Linked DNA regions of Homo sapiens: region 2 is linked to region 1. The links are contacts of gene promoters, found by promoter capture Hi-C in blood cells and fetal thymus (Javierre and others, 2016). All regions are on one chromosome and are shown on one strand. The core of a region is centred on a gene start or on the middle of the fragment in contact, and the rest is flanking DNA. Distances in the headings are between cores, read along the strand shown. Region 1 holds the start of ZNF451 (zinc finger protein 451). Region 2 overlaps ZNF451 (zinc finger protein 451).

Region 1 (6,129 bases), core at 2,481-4,980:
AAATATCAACACTGATACTTTCCCTTTTTTGAAATTTATGAGTATCAGATAATGTTTCTAAACAGGGCTTCCAAACTGATGCATTTAATTTGCCTCTTGGTGGCACACCCTTGGCCAAGAACACAGTCTCTAGAGTCTTAAATGCTGTTAGCAGCCAATGTTCAGATAGATGGTTCTATAAATTACCATTCAATACAAGCAGTAAGACAGTCGATGGAGATCTGATGAAAAATTTTAGTTTTGAAAACAAAACTAGACTTCTTTGATACATAATGATAATGAGTTGAAGGAAGAATATCAACATAATGTCACTGATACAGATCTAGAAATCTATTATGATGTCATTTGGGAAAAAGTCTAAAAGTATTAAATTTAGGGGGGTTGTCAACGCAATGATGGGCCCTCTTCAAGATCTTAACTTATAAGGCAAAATAATGGATTCACAGCTCAGGTAAAACAACAGCAAAAAAATTCCTCAATCACACAAAGAACATTTCCCCATAGTTTAAATTCTCCATTTTGAACCTTGAACCAGTCAGTAAACAATGCTGCTTCTTCCAATTCTAACCAGTTCCTCACTTCCCAAGATTGGCTGAAAATCACCCAACCCAATTCCTTCTTAACTTTCTAAGACTGGGAGATTCCTAAATTTTGCCTATGGCTTTTCTTCTCTTTGGCTACACCAAGCTAAATAAACCTGTCTTTTGGGGACTACAAGCATGTCTCAAATCTCTTGGTGGGCTTCAAAGGATTTTCTTTTTTTCTTTTTTTTTGAGACAGAGTCTCGCTCTGTTGCCTAGGTTGGAGTGCAGTGGCGCAGTCTCAGCTCACTTCAACTGCCTCCCAGGTTCATGCCATTCTCCTGCCTCAGCCTCCCAAGTAGCTGGGACTACAGGCACCCGCCACCACGCCCGGCTAATTCTTTGTATTTTTAGTAGAGACGGGGTTTCACCGTGTTAGCCAGGATGGTCTCAGTCTCCTGACATGGTGATCCGCCCACCTTGGCCTCCCAGAGTGCTGCAATTACAGGCATGAGCCACCACGCCCGGCCCAGGATTTTCTTTTTATTTTCTTTTTTTGAGACAGGGTCTTGCTTTGTTACCCAGGTTGTAGTGCGGTGGTGAGATTAGGTTCACTGAAGCCTTGACCTCTTGGGCTCAAGTGATCCTCCCACTCCAGCCTCCTGAGCAGTTGGGACCACACACATGTACCACCACACCTGGCTAATTTTAAATTTTTTTGCAGAGACAGGGTCTCACTATGTTACCTAGGCTGGTCTTGAACCCCTGGGCTCAAGCATTCCTCCTGCCTCCCAAAGTGCTGGGATTATAAGTGTGAACCACCACCCCCAGCCTGGATTTTCTTGTAAACACATAGTCCAGCTGCCCAGAAAAAAAATAAATTACTATTCCTGTTTAAGTAGGTTTTCTCTTTCAGGGATGCTTTTCTTGATGGCTTGACATGTGATATGGTTTGGATTTGTGTCCTCACCCAAATTCCATGTGGAATTGTAATCCCCAATATTGGGGGAGGGGCCTGGTGGGAGGTGATTGGATCATGGGGGCGGATTTCCCCCTTGCTGTTCTCTAATAATGAGTGAGTTCTCACGAGATCTAGTTGTTAAAAAGTGTGTAGCACCTCCCTGCTTTGCTTTCTTCCTCCTCTGCCCATGTAAAGAGGTTCCTCCTTCCTCTTCACCTTCTGCCACAATTTTAAGTTTCCCAAGGCCTCCCCAGCCATGCTTCCTGTACAGCCTGTGGAACTGTGAGCCAATTAAACCTCTTTCTTTTATAAATTACGCAGTTTCAGGTAGTTCTTTATAGCAGTGCAAGAACGAATACAACATGGTTCTAATTATCCTATATATTTCTTGAATTTTTGAAAAATATGCTTTGAGAAATGTTAGGTAAACATTTTCAGTGGAGATAAAACACTGTAATGTTATCTTTATAGCATACATACCAAAATTTAAACATTACATTCCCCAATTATTAGACATTTAGATATTTTCCAGTTTTTGCTGTTATAAAAAAACCTGTGATGTATCTTCAGGAAAATCCCTGCAACTACAGTTACTGAGTTGTATGGTGTGAGAAGTTTTTGGGTCTAGCCACATACTGCTTGTTTTCCAAGAATTTTACCCATTAACTCCTGCCTCAACTGATTAAATATTAGAGGACACTTTCACCAGCCCACTAGGAAGAGCTTTTAAATACAAGTTTTGCCTACACATTAACGTTTTAAAAATATTTAATTTACACACAGCTTTTGAAGAACTCCCCATGCACGTCTGTCATTCTCAATTGGCTTCCACAAGTCTCAAACTTACTAGGTAGAAAGTAACTAAAGTCATAAAGCACTTGGTGGAAATGCAGGAAATGTCAAATATTAAACAATAATTACTACAGGCTTAGGCAATCAGATGGTAGTTTTGCATACAAACAAAAACAGGAATCTGAGATGTTAAATAATTTGTGTTTTTTTTTTTTTTTTTTTGAGACAGTGTCTTGCTCTGTCACCCAGGCTGCAGTGCAGTGGCATGAATTTGGCTCCCTGCAGCCTGGATCTCAATCTCTCGGCCTCAAGCGATTCTCCTACCTAAACCTCCTGAGTAGCTGGGACTACAGGCAAGGACCACTACGCCTAGCTAATTTTTGTATTTTTTGTAGAGACGAGGTTCCCTCTTATTGCTCAGGCTGGTCTCGAATTCCTGGGTTTAAGTGAACCGCCCGCCTCGGCCTCCCAGAGTGTGAGGACCCGCCTGGCCTAAAATAATGTTATCACTTAATTCTTTTCATAAACTTTATTGACAACGATTGGTGTGTTTTTTTAAAAAACCTTTTTAAATTTTTGGTAAGGTATTACCTGAGAACAGATTAAATGCATAGTTGAATATAAAAGATCTATTTTATAGACTGGTTTATGAGTGTGAACACACAAAAGGTTAAAAGGTCAACCTTACAGCAGTCTATAAATAGATCTCTCATATTCTCTCAGTATATCTGAGAATATTGAAAAAGTGCATTTCAAAATCACTGGCTAGGGTTTAGTGATAGTTAGGTAGACCTCGGTTCCCTTTCCTATTGGGCCCTGGATTTCCCATCCCTATTTTCTTCCTCAGGTGTATTAATACTGGCAGGGCCTGGGAGACTGACGCTAGGGAAGAGGTGTGTAATGTAAGGATACTTCAGATTCTTTCCTGATCCTAGGATTCAGCTAAACCTCCACATAGCCCCTGTCCTCAAAAATGAGTAAATACATAAATTTAAAAATGAAAGGAAAAAAAGAGAAATCCGTTCCCACCACCCACCTTCAGGGCTAAAACAGAAAAATCAATGAGCTGCGCTTCACAACCATACCAAAACCAAACAAATACCAACTCAAACCCTCCTTCACATCCTCCCACATCTTCCCAGTGCTTCGCTATCTCACAGGACCCAGCTGGCCCCTGGCTTCGCCCCACCCACTGCAGCTGGCGTCTTTTAGGCGCATGGTTCTTTTCCTCTCCGGCGAGGGGCGGTCTCGGGGCGGACCCGAACTACAATTCCCAGCATCCTGCGCGGCGCGGGGAAGGAAGCCCGGGAGTGAGAGAAAGCGGCTCCGGGGGCATAGCGGGCCAGTAAGGGCCGCTCCTCCTTTGAAGAGGTTTTGCGTCTCTTTCCGCCGGTGGCGTCGGCGCTCACGCAGGGGCGGGTCCCGGTAGCGCCAGGCGGTGCAGGGCGGGAAGGGGATTCGTGGCGACGGCGGCGGCAGGGACAGCAGGAGCAGTGGTGCTGTCAGCGCGGCCGTCGGAGACATGGGAGACCCGGGGTCGGAGGTGAGTAGTCGAGTGAGGGTCCTGGCGTTCTCAGAGGCGAACCGCGAAGGGTTTGTGTTTTCTGCGGTCTGAGGCCTGGTGCTCCGTCGCAGCCTCGGGGCGATACCTCTTCAGTGTCTTGGGCCGAGCCCAGCTCTGGGGCCTGGTGCGTGTCTGAGCGAGGAACCCGCAGCAACAATGGCCGCCCGGCCCCCCGCACGGGCCCTGGCGTTCGTTGTGGCCGCGGCTGGGCCAGTGGGAGCGACGTTTTAAGGCAGGATTGCCCTTCGGTGTTGAGCTTGCGTTCCTCCTGGAGTAGATAAGGGGAATTGTGAGAGGCTGGTAACTAACGCGTTTTCAGCGTTGGGTCCCTGCAGCTCCGCACACTCTGTGGCAAGAGCCAGAGCTCGAGTTCCGTTCCTAGTCGGGTTTCCGTGAAATTGTGCTCAGTTCGTTTTCCTCAAGAGCTCTCTGTCTTTAATTGTTCCTTTCGGAAACGCTCTCTTCCTACACGAATGTGGCTGAACAGATAAGCATGTTTTGGCTTGTTTTTATAGATAATAGAATCTGTCCCTCCAGCTGGCCCTGAGGCATCTGAGTCAACAACGGATGAAAATGAAGACGACATTCAGTTTGTCAGTGTAAGTAGCAATGATGATTGGGGTTTTCCCAGAGTAAAAGACTATGGTGGGCCATTATGTAATGTTACCTCACCTGGTCATTTAATGTTCATGAGTGTCTAATACATACTAGACACTGGAGCATGGCGCAGGATTGGGAAATTTACCAAAAGAGCTATCTGAGCCACCCCCGTAGCCATCACAAAGAGCACGTCCTAAAGAACGTGCTGTACACTTAATCTCGCCCCCTGCCTTTCATTTAAACTTAAGATAAAAACGCTGGTGTCTAAAACGCTGTTTTGAAATGGAGCAAGAGTAACTTCTAAAGGCGACACGGAGGAAGGAGCTGCTAATGATGAGCAAGGACGTAGAAAACAGGAAGGGTTGTGAGAGCCCAGAATCTTAGCGTTATGGTGCTTCTAACATGAAGGCAAATAGCTTGAAGATTTCTCTAACCTCTGAGATCATCATGTTACGGCATAGTACAGTTGATGCTCATAATGAAGAATCCTACATCACTGGGAACATGCTCTATTTTTCTGAGTTTGTTCCCTTTGAGACAGTAGTTTTCAAGCCTTAGTAAGTATAAACAGGCAGATTCCTGGGCCCCACTGCAGACCTACCGAATCAGAATTTCCAGGCGGGGGCCTAGGAATCTTCATTTTCAGACAAGTGCAGGGACATAAGGATTTCTGAGCACACTTTGTACAGCATGGGTTTCCAAAGCAGAAGAGAGTGTTTTATGATGTATTTTGGGGTGATTTTCTTCCATAATTATTGGAGTTTTAGAAAGGCTTTGCGTAAAGTGGTATCTCAGCTCGCCAGGCAGAAAACGGTTCTGTCCCCAACTCGTCTTTTGGAATGCCGTAGTTAGTTGCAGTTTGGTATTCAAGCTGTAGAATTTTTCGTTGAGTGTCAGATGTGCATTTATGGTGGATGCTGGGAAACCTTGTAAAATTGGTTATTAAACAGTTTCTTTCCCAGCATTAGGGCCATTTTGGTAATTCATTTTTGTATGGTATTTTAATAGATTTGTTTAGGAGTCCTTCACAAGATTGTTTTATTGAATTTCTTTCCCTTTACCAGTGTATGTTGTACTCTCTCCTTTTCATTTTGATCTTCTACGGATTTGGAGTAGAGGATGGGGGTGAATTGTATCCTGTCCTTTCCTTCACCATGCGCTGAAGTATGTTTAATAACAGGTTTCCATGGCTCTTGAGGACAGATATTTCAGGTTCTTCCTGAATCTTGGTATATTTGTGAAGAGAATTTTTTTCTTATGGTGTTTAGTAGAAATAATACTAGGAATGACATACTTCTTTATGAACTATGGCCCTTTTTGAGAAACACGAGTAGCATCTCTTAATATTTGAAAAATGTTTTGTGTAATGAATTACAGTGTAGCTTGTGACTAGTTAATGTAGGCTTGAGTTCACCTTTGGTTTAAAGGAGTCTTTAAATTTTATGTTGAATGTAGAGGATCACTTCCGTCTTTGCATCAAGAGTAAAGAATGTACAATCATTGAATATCTGACATGATACAACTTCTTACTCTTGTTCCCAAATAAAGGTTCAGAGGTTTGACAGTTCCACATGGAGAAGTGAATTATATGTTGTAAGTGTAATTACAATACTAGAAGAAGCCTATTAAAAATTTTCCCTTTACATTTAAGTGGCACCACTTACATGACAATAATAGCTTAATTATATTTC
Region 2 (6,129 bases), core at 1,413-3,912, 67 kb after region 1:
AACGCTGATAGGCTTTTAGGTCCTTAGAGAAGTGGGTACATCCTATCTTATTGCTGGGACTTGCACTTTCTTCTGTACCTTTGTGAGATTGTTCAATGAAAGGAGTGCTGATACCCAATTTCACTTCCTAGTATATAAGAAAAGATGTAATTCTAAGGATTCAGAAGTTTTGTTTTTCGTTTTTCATAATTTCTGCAGTCAAATGCTCTACCACTGAGTTATAACCCCCTTTTTCATAATCTCTGAAGTAAAGAAATATGGATAGAATAATTAATGTTTAAATATCCTAATAATTTAAATTCATGAATAAGGTTTGAAGATATTAATGAATTACCTTAATGAAAAATAGTGGCTTTTTGGCATTTTTATTGTGTGCCTTTAAAGCTTTCAAGTCTGCTTGCCTCCTAGATTTTTTTTTTCTTTCAATATATTTGGAAGCACATTTTGATTGAAAACTCATTCTGGAGAATTTTGCTGTAATCACTGATTACAGTGGATCAATTCACTTCTGCAAAGTTAGGAATCAGTAATCTGTGCTCTTTATACTCTTTAAAGTGGAGTAATGATGGAAGATTATAAAAGAAAATGAACTCTTGTGTCTTTATGTCATGCCTTAGTTCTGAGTATTATCTTCCTATTCTGTAATTTTTGTTTTCACTTGTTTTTCTATCTGTGGCTTTCTTTTTTCTTAAAACAAAAAACAAAAAAACAAAAAAAACAGGCTGGGTGCAGTGGCTCACACCTGTAATCCCAGCACTTTGGGAGGCTGAGGTGGGTGGATCACCTGAGGTCAGAAGTTCAAGACCAGCCTGGTCAACATGGTGAAAACCCATCTCTACTAAATATACAAAAATTAGCTGGGCATGGTGGCGGTTGCCTGTAATCCCAGCTACTCGGGAGGCTGAGGCAGGAGAATCGCTTGAACCCAGGAGGCGGAGGTTGCAGTGAGCTGAGATTGCACCATTGCGCTCCAGCCTGGGCAATAAGACCAAAAACTTCGTCTCAAACAAAAAGCAAAACACCTCTTCTACTCTTTTGCCATCGCTTTCCCAGTTCTCAACATCTACTTAATATCCTATAAGATAAAGTTTTACCTTTGCCGCACAAGGCCAACCTCCCTTTCCTTCTCTTATGCTTCTGCTTTTGGGAACATTTCTTTTATAACTCCAAATGTGAAACCTGTTATGGTTTTGCAGAGGCAAAACCATATTCTGTTTGGAATGAGAGGTGAATACGAGTAGACTTGCATGGGTATATTACAGTTGGAGGTAAGATACAGGTTATTAATATCTGCTGATTATGCCCTTCCAAATGACTCTTATGTTCTAGGTATTCTTTTTTTTTTTTTTTTTTTTTAATCACTCATACTCAGTACTCATTTGAACTAACTACTCTCTGGAGGCACATGTGTACTTTATTCTTAGTTTTTGTGACATACAGAGATTGTGCACTGCATGAAGAAGGATATGGGCTTTGGTTCAAATGCTAACTTTGCTGTTTCCTAGCAGCGCGATTTCAGGCATGTTACTTAACTTTTTTGGAGCCTCATTTTTTTGTATTTATATGGTTGTAATAGTTAGTGATGTATGTAAAGTGTCTAGCACAGTATATAAAGCACTTTAGCTATTTAACAAATAATAGCTATTTTTTATTATTACTACCATAAAAAGAAAATGTGATTCCTAGCCACTACATTTTTAATGTTACACTGAATCATAGTATGTTCAGGCTTAGTTATCTGATTTAAGACCAAATTTTTTCTTCATGGAAGACTTAAAACCATCAAATTTCCTGTAGTGAACTTTATAAGGAATCAAAGAAAAATCATTTTCTTGGATAACTTTTATTCCATTTCCTTTCCTAACAAATAGCTTTGTGAATAGTTGAGTAATAGTTTCTATTAAGGAATGGTATTTAATGTATAATGGGACTCAATAAATCTCTCAATGTCCATTAATAATATAATTTTTGTTACTAAAGAATGCCAGATAACTCCTTGCACATAGCTAAACATGGTGTTCCTTCTTGTTTTCAGATTTGACAGCCAGTCAGTTTCTTAAGGCAATGTGGTTTTTGGGGTGAAGGGGTCACTGGACCTTTTTGAGAATCTGATGAAAACTTTCTATACCCTCCATCCCCCAAAATAAACATGTATGTACTACATTGCATACAATTTCAAGGGATTTGTGGTCTCAACGCTTCTAGATGCCAATCAACAAACAAAATTGTCCTTTGGGATGTAACCTAAGTTTATACTATAAGTCAACAGTCCCCAACCATTTTGGCACCAGGGACTGGTTTCATGGAAGACAATTTTTCCATGGATTGGGGGCAGGAGGTGGGGCATTAGATTCTCATAAGGAGCGTACAACCTAGATCCCTTGTACGTGCAGTTCACAATAGGGTTTGTGCTCCTATGAGAATCTAATGCCGCTGCTGATCTGACAGGAGGAGGAGCTTAGGTGGTAATGCTGGCTCACCTGCTGCTCACCTCCTGCTGTGCGGCCCAGTTCTTAACAGGCCACAGACTGGTACTGGTCCATGGCCCTGGGGTTGGGGACTCCTGCTATAAGTAACATACAGTGATAAGTTCTTTCATATTTGTTATTATATAGCCAGGCTAGTGATTTTTCAGATTTTTGAATTTTTCACCAGAGCATAGAGAAGTTGATACAAGTTTGAGTCTCTTATTCTTTATAAGTTTTCAGAAATTTACCATCAGCAGGACTAAAAAGTGGTTTTTATTAGACTAAAGATTGCTGTATAAATAGGAAGGATCTTTTGAATATTGTTATCAGAATCGATCATATGGTATCATACTAGGAGAAATTAGTCTTTGCTAATTTCTCTGTTAATTGAAAGTCTTTCCAGAGGTACTTATTTCAGTAAAAATACAGATATTTGGAGTTCCTGGTTCTGTATATCGGTGTCCAGTCATTTGTTCCTAAGGCATTGTTTTAGCATGGTGGGGAGGGGAAAGGTTAAGTAGCTTTATTACTGGTACATTTTTAGGTCTCTGACTTGGTTAGTTAGGGTAAAAGTTCTTTTCTCTACTTGTAAGCATCAGGGTTTCAACATGAGCATTTTAATTACGCTATGATATATGTATAAATTCTTGTAGAGACATTTAAAAAGTCTATTAACTTTAATTTCTGCCCCCACCTTGGTCTTCTTATCCTTCATCATTTCTATTTTATATTGTACTTATCCTCACTTTCTTAACACTTAAGATACATGGATCCTTTCTGGTAATCCCAATCAGAGAAGCCAGGTAGACTTTCTTAGACCATTTATATTTTATTCCCAAATACTTCATTATTCTAACTCAAGCCTCATGTTTCAGAGATGCAGATATAACTTGTCACTTAAATGTTGAAAGAAAAAAAAGGTGAACTTTTTAATTGAAAAAAGTTTATTGAAGTTTATTGTAGTTTATTGAAGACTACTATGTGCCAGCCACCATGTTAACTGCTTTTTATGTTTGTAGTGTTTACAGATGTTTAAATATGTTGAAAGAACTTCTTCCATATGCTTTTTAATCCCCTTTGCAAGCTACGAAGTAGGTGTTGGATTACCCCATTTTATAAGTGTGGAAGGAAGCACAGGTTCAGAAAGGTTAAATAATCTACCTGCAGTCACAGAGCAAGTGCTTTGCTTTTCATTAGTATCAACGACTGTGGTTGAGACTTTCACTGACACAAATACCTGATTCCATGATGTAGAGCTAGCCACCCAGTGTGAATTACTGGCTTTAACCATGTCCTTGAAGAATGAAGATAATGGGAAATATTCTGCCACAGTATAGGGACATTGCAGAGTTTATATAAAGATATCAAACAAGTTTTTTATTTTTAAATAACATTCAGGAAGAATGCGCTTTTTTTTTTTTGTCAGAAGAAATGATTTGGTTGTGAGTTCTGGTGCTTTAAAAAGTAAAGTGATTATATGCTGAATATAGCCAAGGAAAGCAATTAGCATTCTAATTTCTTTAGGATCTTTTGTCTCATAATTAAATGAATAAACACCATCTTTACAGGCTCCTCGAGATGTTGGCACTAGAACTACAAGCACTGCAGTGAGCTTATTGGAGTACTGCAACATGTGGTTTCAAAGAAATTCACTAGAAACCTGCCTCCCATTGCTTCCTCTACCTTTCACTTAATCGATATAAATGTTCCAGGGCACACAGAAGTTAGTATTTTCAGTGTTTTCTTATTTGGGCCAGTATCTGCTCCCTTGAGAATTACATGTAATGAAAAAGATGTTACTACAAGATAATTTTTGTTGAATCTGTATGCTCCTTAGATGGTCTTGTTTATAAGCCTGAGACTGTCATATCCATTTAGTTGTGGCTTCATTGTGGATGAGTGGGTTAGAAGCAGTAAGTAGGGTTGGCATCTATGAGTCATACCAATTACACAGATTTTTAAATCCATCTTACATATAGAGCATAAACATTCACCTAGGTGCTATGGAAGTGTAGATGATTGAAGCAGCATCATGGCCTGTGGACTAGGCATTACCTAAAATAATTGTTGAACTTATTTCTTAAAGTCTGTCTGCCTGTTGTTTCCTCAGCCTGTTAATGAAAACTATAGGTTGTTTCTTTGGGCACCATTATAAAAATATGTTGATAAAATTAATTCCATGCAAAGGTACTGAAAATAAGAAAGAATATTTACGATTTTCTCTGTTCTTCTGATGGGGTTGATGGAGGCAAAAGAAACCTTTTATGATATTAATATTTGCAACCCCATGTCAAGTTAATCCTTGACAAATCAAGGATTTGTCATTATTCAAACCTGTAGTGTAGCCTTAGGCCTTGCATGCAATGATGAATTGTTTGGATGAGTTATAACATGCTGCTTTTGACTGATCTTGACTTTAAATTGTAATAACAGAAAGCTGTGGGTATTTTCCTTTTGTTCTTAATGTTTAGAGCAAGCTTGTCTAACCTGTGGCCCACGGGCCACATGTGGCCCAGTTCAGCTTTGAATGTAGCCCAACACAAATTTGTAAACTTTCTTAAAACATTATAAGAGTTTTTTTTTTTTTTTTTTTGCGTTTTCTTATTTTGCTCATGGGCTATCATTAGCGTTAGTGTATTTTATGTGTGGCCCAAGACAGTCTTCTTCCAATGTGGCCCAGGCGAGCCAAAGATTGGACACCCCTGGTTTAGAGGTTTAATTTTGTTCTTTAATTTGTAAATGTAATGTTTTATTTACCTAAAACACTGCTTGAAATATTTGAAGTATTTTGCTGGAATTAATAGCAAAGATGACTTGTAAAAACAAATTTCTGCAGCAAAAGAATATAGTGAAATATAGTGATTTAATTTTTATTTATAGACCCCTAAAGGGCTTTTTAATGTATATTTTAAGTTTTTAAGTTTGCACAGAAACAAATATGTCTATATGATTTGTATTTAGTTAGGTGCTGATTCAAGTCACTGACATATATATCATATATAGATGCATATCTGTTTATATTTGTATAATTATGTCTTGATATAAATATATATTGATTTAAATGTAGTTAAAGTGATAAGCACAATATTAGGTCATTGATAGTACAATGTTTCAAATTTTTTAAAGGTGAACTTTATTTTTCAGTATGGTTTTAGATTTACAAAAAAGTTGTGAAGATAGTACAGAGTGTTTCCATGTACCCATACTTAGTTTCCCTTATTAGTAACATCTTATGTTAGAGTGATACATTTGTCATAATTCACGGAACAATATTAGGACATTATTACTAATTCCAGCCTTTAGTTTTCCCCAATGTCCTTTTTCTTTTGTTTTCTCCCCTCCCCTCCCCTCCCCTGTCTTTTCTTTTCTTTTCTCGTCTCGTCTCGTCTCATTTCATTTGAGACAGGGTCCCACTCTTGTCACTCAGGTTGGAATGCAGTGGCGTGATCTCAGCTCACTGCAACCTCCACCTCCCAGGTTCAAGCGATCTTCCTACCTCAGCCTCCCAAGTAGCTGGGACTATAGGTGCGCACCACCATACCTGGCTAATTTTTTGTATTTTTGGTAGAGACAGGGTTTTGCTGTGTTGCCCAGGCTGGTCTCGAACTCCTGAGCTCAGGTGATCCACCCACTTCGGCCTCCCAAAGTGCTGGAATTACAG

The links. Contacts are between HindIII fragments. The CHiCAGO score rates a contact against its expected background, and 5 or more counts as called.
Region 2: a fragment that was not itself captured here is called in contact with the fragment with the promoter of ZNF451 in region 1 in 10 of 17 cell types (naive CD4 T cells, naive CD8 T cells, total B cells and 7 more); the score reaches 10.0 in naive CD4 T cells.

Annotation. Positions count from the first base shown.
Region 1 is chr6:57,086,458-57,092,586 of GRCh38, forward strand. It overlaps ZNF451 (zinc finger protein 451), which reads left to right and starts at 3,731. Exons shown (of 15, transcript NM_001031623.3): 1 at 3,731-3,817; 2 at 4,354-4,437. The coding sequence starts at 3,797. RefSeq lists enhancers at 3,400-3,549, 3,417-4,299 and a silencer at 3,720-3,789. The HindIII fragment of the contact is 8,135 bases long and covers 1-6,129 here.
Region 2 is chr6:57,154,484-57,160,612 of GRCh38, forward strand. The region is part of intron 13 of ZNF451 (zinc finger protein 451); the gene reads left to right. All of the region lies in intron 2 of ZNF451-AS1 (ZNF451 regulatory antisense RNA 1), which reads right to left. Among named protein-coding and RNA genes, the nearest start is that of ZNF451-AS1, 15 kb to the right of the region's middle. The HindIII fragment of the contact is 4,561 bases long and covers 383-4,943 here.